Regions from separate parts of the Homo sapiens genome. Here region 1 is linked to region 2. The links are contacts of gene promoters, found by promoter capture Hi-C in human tissues and cell types (Jung and others, 2019). All regions are on one chromosome and are shown on one strand. Each heading gives the region's core, a stretch centred on a gene start or on the middle of the fragment in contact. The rest is flanking DNA. Distances are from core to core; before and after follow the strand shown.

Region 1 (3,102 bases), core at 1-2,500, 140 kb after region 2:
CTGGCCTCCACTCAATGGGAAACTGACTCGCCTGTGAAAGACACAGTGGGAGAGCTGAAAATGAATCAGAAGCTTTATGTATATGATTTTTAAATTAAACTTTACTTTTTCAGACTGCCCCTCCCCTTTTTGTAAAAAGTCCATTTACTGTAAAATCGTTTTTTCCAGTTTGTCTGTGGTGTATTGTTTCTGGCCCACAGCCAGCTGATCACTTGTCAATGTAGGATCTATTCCAGCCTTTTGGTATCTGGGTTCAGGGTTATCTCAGTCTCCTGGCTGACTGTTCTCAACATTTATCCTCCAGTGTGGTTTTCAGTCTGGGAGAGAGTTGTGCTTTTGGCTCCTGAGGGTACCCCAGGCCCAGAAGATACCACCCATTTGGCGCAGAATTTTGAATTGGCAAGGAGCCCTGCTCATGTCCTTCCAACACTTTCAGTCTCTTAGGAAGTCAGTTCATGCTGACTTGAATGAGTCACTTGCATAGTCTAGAAATGTTCATTATTTTTATGGAAGCTTTGGGTAGAGGCTTTTAGCTACAGGCATGGGAGATGACTATGAAGAGAGTAGGACGAGAGGACTTGGTGGTTCTGGAAGCAGCTGGAGGAGCTGGCTCTCTGCTCTACATTCCAGTGGTGACCTGGGAGGGAGGGTAAGTGGAAGTGGACAGGGCAGCAATACCAATGAAGTTGGCAGGCCAGAGCCAGGGCCAGTGCCAGGACCATGTAGCGGCCTGACTACAGTCACTAACTTATGAGTAGGGGAAGAAAAAACATTAAGGAAATGGCTATGATAAGGGCTCCAGCATGTGAGCTGGCTCTTCAGCTTGGCATTAGAGGTCTCTAGGAAAGCATATGGGGTTCTGTTTTCCCCTAGGAAGTTTAGGGTAACAATCCAAAAAGATTCTCTGTGCATTAAACAGTTGTCTGTTTGATCTGGTTTTGCCTGGGAGCTGGTCCCCTGCTGGGATACCTGGGGTATTTCCTTCCCCATCATTTTCGGATCTTCATGTGAGGTGTTAGAAATAGTATTTAGGGAAATGGGTTGAAAATGAATGGCCTCAGCAGGGAGGAGGAAGAGGTGTTTCTTTTACCTTACTATGGGTAGAGTAGGGGGAGGGAGTTGGGATGAATTTTTATGAAATCCTAGAACCTTTCCATGGGGTGGGTTTTTTTGTGGGGTTGGAGAACGACAAATGAGAGTGAGACAAACGAATTACAAGTAATAGTGTGTAGGTTATCATAGACTGTCCTGGCGGTCTTGGGGTAGCAGAAGAAAGAGAACTGGTAGAGCATTGAATAGGGATAGGAGTGTTCTGGTTGTAATTGTTTTTTTGTGTTAGTGGGAAGAAGGGATGGGACCAACCAGACTGATTTGGGAATGGGTTAGATTTGTAATAGGGCAGGTAAGTTCACACTGGAGAAGCCCATGAGTTACTCGCATTTGCCCACAAGTGGAGTAAGTCACATACCAATACCAGATGCCTGGAAGTTTCTGGTGACATTTGCAGTTTTGACATTCTATTTCTTTTTTTCTTTTTTTTGAAATGGAGTTTCGCTCTTGTTGTCCAGGCTGGAGTGCAATGGCGCGATCTCGGCTCACCACAACTTCTGCCTCCCGGGTTCAAGCGATTCTCCTGCCCCAGCCTTCCGAGTAGCTGGGATTACAGGCATGTGCCACCATGCTCAGCTAATTTTGTATTTTTAGTAGAGACGAGGTTTCTCCATGTTGGTCAGGCCAGTCTCAAACTCCCAACCTCAGGTGATGCACCACCATGCCCAGCTAATTTTGTATTTTTTAGTAGAGATGGAGTTTCTCCATGTTGGTCAGGCTGGTCTCGAACTCCCGACCTCAGGTGATCCGCCTGCCTCGGCCTCCCAAAGTGCTGGGTGTGAGCCACCATACCTGGCCCTAAAGTTTTGCCATTCTTGTCTCTCATCTGTCTGTGCTGGGAACCCATCATTCTCTGGTTCTATTGGTGTATCGTGTCCTAGGTGCTGGCACTTTCATGTGCTATAAAGTGTTTCATTTGATTATTAAATTTAACCCAGCTCAATATGTCAGTAAGTTAGTTTCCACTTAACATTCCCTTGACTGCATGCTGGAATTTGTAGTATGAATGAACTACTTCTCTTCCATGCAGAAACTGACAGCATTTGAGATTTGGACAACATTTTTGAGCTTTGTGCATTTGTTGATTCCTTCTCTAGGAAAACTATTCTGTCCGTGAAGGGAGAGAGGGACATGGGAAGATGTCTAAATTGGTCACCTCCACTAAGAACTTTGGTTTTCTACTCAGAACTCTTTTTTTTTTTTGAGATGGAGTCTCACTCTGTTGCCCAGGCTGGAGTGCAGTGGCGCGATCTTGGCTCACTGCAACCTCCATCTCCCGGGTTCAAGACTACAGGCGCTTGCCACCACACTCGGCTAATTTTTCATATTTTTAGTAAAGGCAGGGTTTCACCGTGTTGGCCAGGATGGCCTTGATCTCCTGACCTTGTGATCCGCCTGCCTTGGCCTCCCAAAGTGCTGGGATTACAGGCGTGAGCCACCGCGCCCGGCCTCAAAACTCTAACTGTTACTCCTTAAGGACTTGTATGTCTTTCCCAGTAAACAGAATCATTAAATGACATATAGGACAGTGTACCACACTGGAGAGAGTATGGACCCTAGAGTGAGGTCAGACTAGGGTGTTTCTTCTCCTGCCCACAGGGCGTGTAACCACTGATAACTCACCTGGCTTCTCTGAGCCTCAGTTTCCTCATCTCTAAAACAGAAAAGATAATACCTACCTTACAGAGTTGTGTGAATGTTACAAAAGGTAAAGTACACGAGGTTCCTAGCACATTGCCTTTCATTCTGCTGCTTTGGAATGCCTTTGGTGACCCTGGGGTATTTGTGGCAGTGTTTGGGTTTCTGGGTTCCTGGCTCCTCTACCTCCGTGGTAGCCTTTCCTTCCTCAGGGGTCGGGGAGAGGAAGAAGCTTCCACTAGTTTTCCTACAGGAACCTCTGGAGGTAGCAGGTTGATTTTTGCAGTGGAATTTGTGTTTTTGTGCAACACAAACCTTTTCCTGAGCACCAAGGCAGCACTTATTTGCAAAGCC
Region 2 (6,707 bases), core at 2,231-4,730:
CCAGTACTTTGGGAAGCCAAGGAGGAAGGATCCTTTGAGCTCAAGAGTTCAAGACTGCAGTGAGCTATGATTGTGCCACTCCACTCCAGCCTGGGTGACAGAGTGAGACCCTGTCTCTGAAAAAAAAAAAAAAAAGAAAAGAAAAGACAAACCGAAGTGTTTAGGGGTAAAGAGGTCGGATGTGTAAAACTTAATTTGAAATGGTTCAGAAAAAAATGCTTTATTTGCAACTTTTGTAGAAGTTTTGAAGTTATTTTGAAATACAAAATTTAAAAATTAATTGTTTAATTGACGTCTTTCGTGAGGGGAGGGGCTACCACTGTCTTGTTTTCTGCTGTAGTTCCAGCTCTAGCACACCGCAGGCTTCAACAAGAAATATTTCTTGAGTGAACAAATGAATTAATGAACTAAACCATCTTCCAATTTGGGTTTCAGGCAGGGGCTGGGATTTTGGAAGTCAAGCTTTAGACAGCAAGAGGCAAAATTCCTCTTTTTCTCTAGGTATATCTCTTCTGGAGCTCCAATCTGAGAGGGTAGATCATCTATAGTTTGGGGAAATAAGACCTCTGCCCTCCAAAGGCCGACAGGCAGCCCACAAGCAGGAGATAATTGAGTTGTGCTTTGCAACAAGAAGACCTGGCTGAGTGCCATTTTCTAAGTCAGTTCCCTAAGGTTCACCCTATTCCCCACATCACCACCACCCTTGGTTAAGATTTGTTTTTTAATTTTTAATTGTTATGGAGATAGGGTCTCCCTATGTTGTCCAGGCTGGTCTCAAACTCCTGGCCTCAAGGGATTCTCCTGCCTTAGGCTCCTGAAGTGCTGGCATTACAGGTGTGAGCCACCGCCAGCCAGTTAAAAGCTTTTATAATATCCATTACTATTACTCTTGTAATGCAGCACTTATCTCAAGCTACTGTAACTGTATATTTGTCTGCCCTTTTCACTAAAGTGTGAGACTCTCCTAGGCAGAAGCTAAGTCTTTTCAGCTCAATATCCTCCTATGGGCCAGGCGCAGTGGCTCATGCCTATAATCCTAGCACTTTGGGAGGCTGAGGCAGGCAGATTGCCTGAGCTCAGGAGTTCAAGACCAGCCTGGACAACATGGTGAAACCCTGTCTCTACTAAAAATCCAAAAAATTACCCAGGCATGCTGGTGCTCGCCTGTAATCCCAGCTTCTCAGGAGGCTGAGGCAGGAGAATCACTTGAACCTGGGAGGCAGATGTTGCATGCAGTGAGCCGAGATCGCTCCACTACACTCCAGCCTGGACGACAGGGCGAAACTCTGTCTCAAAAAATATATCTATATATCTATATCTATATGTATATCATCTATATCATCTATTCTCCTATGACTACCACGTAGCCCACCCCATGCTATCCCTCAGCCCGGCCTCAGATCTGGAATCTGGTTCCTGTGCTGTCCCCTTCTGCCCTTGGCTGTCATGCTGCTGCCTCACCACCAGAGGGCCTTCCAGCTGGGCCTCAGAGACCCTTCTTACTGCCCCACCCAAGGTGCCAGGCAGCCAGCACTGGCTCCCCACCCCCTGCCCCTCATCCTGCAGGGTGCCCTATGCTTTTTGTGGAGCCATTCACCTGTCTCTCCCTCCATTTGCCTCAGCTAAGGAGACCTTCCTAGCAAGATCTCAGGGTTGGTCCAGCTTTGCAGCAAAGTTTGACTTCTGCCAGTGTGTGTGTCTGGTCTCTGATAGGGATGCTATCTTCCTGGGAGGCTGTCTTACATCTAAGCTCTCCTCAGGACCAAACAGAAGGACCTCTTTTTCCATTTCCATGTGTCGGAGACCTCCCTAATGACTGCTATTTGCAACCTCATGTTTGTCCAAGGGCTACATGTAGCTCTTGGTTCATTTGTAGAAGGGGCAGAGCACAAGGTGCTTGTGGAAAGGTGGCCACTGCCTGGACCTTTGTGAGGCCCTCAGGGCCAGGGCTGGTCCTACCTGAGGCCCTGGATCACCTGGAGGGACCATCAGCCCATCCACTGTTTCTCCCTAGGCCTGAAAGAGGGACCCTCGTTCAGGATGAAGCTGAGAACAGACTCAGTAGAGAAAGGGGGAGAGAGGTGAATGGAACCATGACCCAGGTAGTATGGAAAGAGGGCTAGGACCCAGCTGGAGCTCCCTGTGTGTTGGGTACGTGTGACTGTGTCTGTGCTCCCTGTATCATTCCTGTGCATTTCCACCCATGAAATTCCCTGGGAAAAGGTCAAGCTCTCTCCACCATGCTAAGTAGGGTGAGCAAAGGAGATGGTTGGGGTTGAGGGCTCAGATACTCAAGGAGGCAGGGATCCCCCGGGGGGATGATCCCTGGTGATAGTGATTGAAATCAGAAGGAGAGAGTTAATGCGGAGGAGTGAGAACCATGGGCCCGACTCGAAAGCTCACTTCCTACTGGCTGTCCTCCATCCCCAGCTCTCCTCAAGCTCTCTCTGCAGAATCTCAGTATGGCATCTGCCAAAAAGCTTACATGGATGATCCCCAAACATGGTCATCTCCTCTCACTTCCCCAGGGCTCTCAGACTCTTCCTTGGGGGACCTGGGAGAGGTTTTCCGGACCTTCCTACTTTTTGACAGCATAACACTGTCAAGCACATGCAAAGTCTGCCAATAACAAGGGGCCCTCCTGACAAGCAGAGATGTTTTCTCTTCAGGGCTGCGGTGATGGGTGGGGGTCACTGCTATGAGGGGACGGTCTGCAGCCATAAGAAGGCTCTTCAGGCTAGAAGGCTTCACTCCCAAGGCCCGCACAGCTGAAGAGACCAAGGGGTTATAGGCTGAGGGCGCTATTGTGCACACCCTCCCACCCCAGCAGAAGTGGTTGGCACTGCAGCGATGCCAAGGCCGGCTGCTTGGGGGTGGGAGGAGGTCGCTGCAGTGATGAGGAATCCCTGCTTGGAGTGAGTGGTCACTGAAGTGGCTGCATGAACTAAAAGTACCTGCAGGGATGGGGGAGGTTTTCTGCAGTGATGAAGAGCACTTTGCAAAGGAAAGGGGCCAGCTTCTTGGGGGAAGAGTCCTGCGGTGACGGTGATGGGGGGCTGGGGGGTTCGCTGCAGTCAGGAGGGAGGGTCTCTGCAGCGATGGGAAGCAACCCAGGGCAGGGGGTGGGGTGGGCTGGGGAATGGGATGCCGTCGTGGTAATGGGATAGCTGGGGTCGCGGCAGTGTCGGTGGCACTTGCAGGACGCCTGATTCCTGAAGAATGGAAAGGGTGGGGTCTCTGAGGCCTCGGTCCTGCAGTGACGGGGATCCGTGCGGCGGCGGGGACGCGGTCCCTGCACTGCGGTGCCCAGTCTGGCTCGGGCTGCCGCGGCTGGCGCGGAGGCGGTACCGCGCCCGAAGGAGGGGGGAGCGCCAGCCCCGCCGCAGCAGCAGCAGGCGTGGCCAGGGCAGGCTGGAGGGGCGGCCTCTCGGAACGGGGGCGGGACCACCGCCGGCAGGGCCCGCGCCCCTGCCGGGACTCAGAGCCGCTGCAGCCACAGTCACGAACTGGCGGCCGGCAGGTGCCGGGACCGAGGGCCACCCGGAGCGCAGAGGCGGCACCACCCACACGGATCCCGTGGGCACCTAGAACTCCGCGGAGGGCGCGACGGTGAGGCTGAGACTGCCACAGGGAGCGGGGCGATCCCCAGAGCCAGCCCGCGGCATCCCCTGCGCGGGCCGCGGCCACTGCAGGTGCCCCCTCCTCCCACATCAGCTCTGCCGGGGTAGGGAGCGGTAACCTGGCGGCTCCCACGGACTCTCCCTGGCCCGACACCTCTCCCGGGCTTGCCTCCCAAAGACCCCCTCTTTTCGCTTTCCCAGCTCGTTCTTCCCACCCTTAACCCCTCCACTCCGGCCAGCACCCCCGTCGGATGAGGCACCAGGGAGAGAAAGACCAAGGCCCTTTCGGCGCCCCATCCACCCTGCCCCCGCGATCCCTCGCAGGGCCGGGGGCCTCCGGGGGGATTCGGGCCCTTTAAACCTCCGCCTTCCCGGAGCATCTTCCATCTCCACCCGCGCCGCTTCCGACAGCTGGCGGCCGCGGGGGGCCCCGGGGGGCCGGCAGGTACGGGGGTGGCTGCGAGGTTGGGAGTGGGCGGTGGAACAGCTGTGACCGCCCCCACCCCCGGGGGAGCCGCGGCGGGACTGCTGGGCGCCGAAGCGCGCGTTAATCATTAACCCTCCGCGGCCCGGCTGCCCAGGTAACGCGTGAGGATGCCCTCCTCGCCACCACGCCTGCCGCCCCCTTATCTCCCCCGCCACCTGTCGCCCTCAGGAGCTCCCGCTCGGCCTCGCGCCCCGGCAGGCCCCGTCCGGGTGCTGGAGTGAGACTCTCGCGCTGGCCTCTGGAGCGCGGGGTGGGCGTCCCGTCACCCTGCGCCCAGCTTCCCCGGCCCGTTCCCGCAGGGCCGGCCTCCCGGCGCCATGCCCGGCCTGTACTGCCCCTCCAGCTGGACGCCGCTGCCGCTCACGGACTCCTGGGTCCGGGCCTGCGCCAACGGCCCCTGCCTCAGCGTGCGGGCCCGGCTCACCTACCGCAACCCGCAGCCGCAGCCGGTGGACGGTGAGGCCCGGGTGGGGCGCGGGCGCGGCGGGGGGTGCGCCGGGCAGGGTCCGACGCCGCCTCCCGCCGCCCTCCCCAGGCGTGTTCGTGTACCCGCTGGCCGAGGCCGAGGTGGTGTCCGGCTTCGAGGCCGAGGCCGCCGGACGGCGCGTCTCCTTCCAGCTGCAGAGCCGGCGCCGCTCGCAGGCCGCCTGCTGCCGCGCTCTGGGCCCGGGGCTGGGGACCCCGACGCCCCGCCGCTGCGCGCAGGGTGAGTTCCGCGCGCCCGCACCCGCGCTCCTGAAAGCCGGGCGCAGCTCAGGCTCCCGCATCCGCTCGGCCTCCGCCCGTCCCCCGCCTTCCTCCGGGCACTGCCTTGTGCATTCATTGGCTCATCCTGGTATTTAGCAGTCGTGGGCTGGGCACCTGACCTGCGCCAGGTGCTGGGAGAACATGGCCCGGAGGTTCACAGCCTGGGAGACAGACACAGCAGGCAGCACAGGGCTTGCGGGGGCGCCAGCAACCCTTACAGCCCAGGAGACCGGTCTCTCTAGGGGGCTGCAAAGGGAGCCTTCTCCCCTGGTGGTCCCCTCCGGCCCCTTACTATTTTAGGCTGCACACCTCAATCCGGCCCCGCGTGGGCCAGTGAATCAAGTGTAGACTCCTGTGCCTAGCAGCCAAGGCCCTCGCTCTCACCCCATTCCATCCCTCTCCCAGCGACCCCATACACCAGGTACCGCTGCCGCTGGCCACACTGACTGACAGGTCCTTTCCCAACTCTCTGCTCTGTCTTTCCATCTTCTATTGAGCAAATTCCTACTTGTCCTTTAAGATCCACTAAACGTCATTCCTAGGGAAACCCTCCCTGACTCTCCCACAAATAGCTGCACTGTTTCCTGGCTCCCCAGCCTTTTGTGCCCCCTCGTTATGGCACTTACAGGGGGAGTCATTGTCACAGATCTGCCTGTCTGTCTCCCCGCTGGAGCATCTCCAAATCCCAGCACCTCACACAGAACCTGGCACTATGAGGCCCAGCGAGTGCCCGGGGAAGGGACAGAAGCCCAGCCCTGTGCTGTGTGCTGTGCTTGCACCTGGTTCTTTCATTGATTCATTCATACATGGCTTTGATTCCTGCCCAGGGGATTTGCAATCCAGGTAAGAAGAAGAGGAACAGAATCCAGTGGTGTTGAGAGCTGGCATAAGCCCAGCACGTTAGGGGCTTGTGGTTAGAGGCTAGAGTGAGCTCTGGGCTGAGGCCCCAGGAATGTTCCAGAAGGAGGTAGAGCCAGCATTTGACTGCAAGAAAGGGTAGGACTCAGTTAAGTGGAAGGTAGGGGCAACAGTATAAGCAAATGCTTATAAGTAGGTTACAGTGGGTAATGACAATAAAATATCTCATGTTTATAGTGATTTACAGTTTACAATCGCTAGTATCACCTCATTTGAATCCCAAGTAGTGGGTAATGCAGGCTTCTTCCTGTTATGGGGGATGGAAGGGGGATAATCCCCCTTCCTCCTGTTATGGGGGATGAAAGTCATAGCAGGGGTCACTGACTTATATGTTGGGTGCTTTGCATACATTGCCTCATTTGTTCCTCACCACAATCACAGAGTTATTATGATCCCCACTTTATGGATGAGGAAACAGGCTCCTCAGAACAAGAGAGCTGCCAAAGGACTCAATTAGAGGTCACCGAGCTGATATTTAAAACTTGATGCTGTGCTGTCTCCACTGTGTCGGTTGGCTGGGATGGAAGCCCCTTTCTTTCTTTCCTTCCATCTTTTTCTTCCCTTCAGTTATTCAGCAAGTATTTATTGAAAGGATGAACAATTGGTCATTGTGAGGAAGTGAGGTACAGTAGGGCTGTGAACGTGGGCTGGGGCCAGACCACGTCGGTGGTGTACACAGCTGCCACTGTACATGGCTGGTCATTATTCCTTTAGCAGCCCCACCAGTCCCCAAACAAACCTAGGAGCTAAATAAAACAGTGTGTGCAGTGTGCAAATGGAGCTTTATGTCCTCCAGCCTGCTTCCTGCTTCTCTATTCCTCCTGCCCGGGAGGAGTAGAGAATTCTGGAGCCACCTTAGTGGGCAATGGGGGAGCTCCTGATGGTTCAGGAGCAGGAAATTTATGAGCAGAGTGGGGTCCCAGGCCACAGGGAGA

Evidence for each region. Contacts are between HindIII fragments. The study calls those that stand out against the background at their distance.
Region 1: a contact is called between a fragment that was not itself captured here and the fragment with the promoter of VWA5B2 in region 2, in 1 of the 25 tissues and cell types used here (dorsolateral prefrontal cortex).

Annotation. Positions count from the first base shown.
Region 1 is chr3:184,368,425-184,371,526 of GRCh38, forward strand. POLR2H (RNA polymerase II, I and III subunit H) reads left to right here. Exons shown (of 6, transcript NM_006232.5): 6 at 1-167. Among named protein-coding and RNA genes, the nearest start is that of THPO, 8.2 kb to the right of the region's middle. The HindIII fragment of the contact is 4,081 bases long and covers 1-3,102 here.
Region 2 is chr3:184,226,105-184,232,811 of GRCh38, forward strand. It overlaps VWA5B2 (von Willebrand factor A domain containing 5B2), which reads left to right and starts at 3,481. Exons shown (of 20, transcript NM_001390846.1): 1 at 3,481-3,609; 2 at 4,276-4,563; 3 at 4,643-4,813. The coding sequence starts at 4,425. RefSeq lists a silencer at 3,249-3,588. The HindIII fragment of the contact is 9,993 bases long and covers 1,672-6,707 here.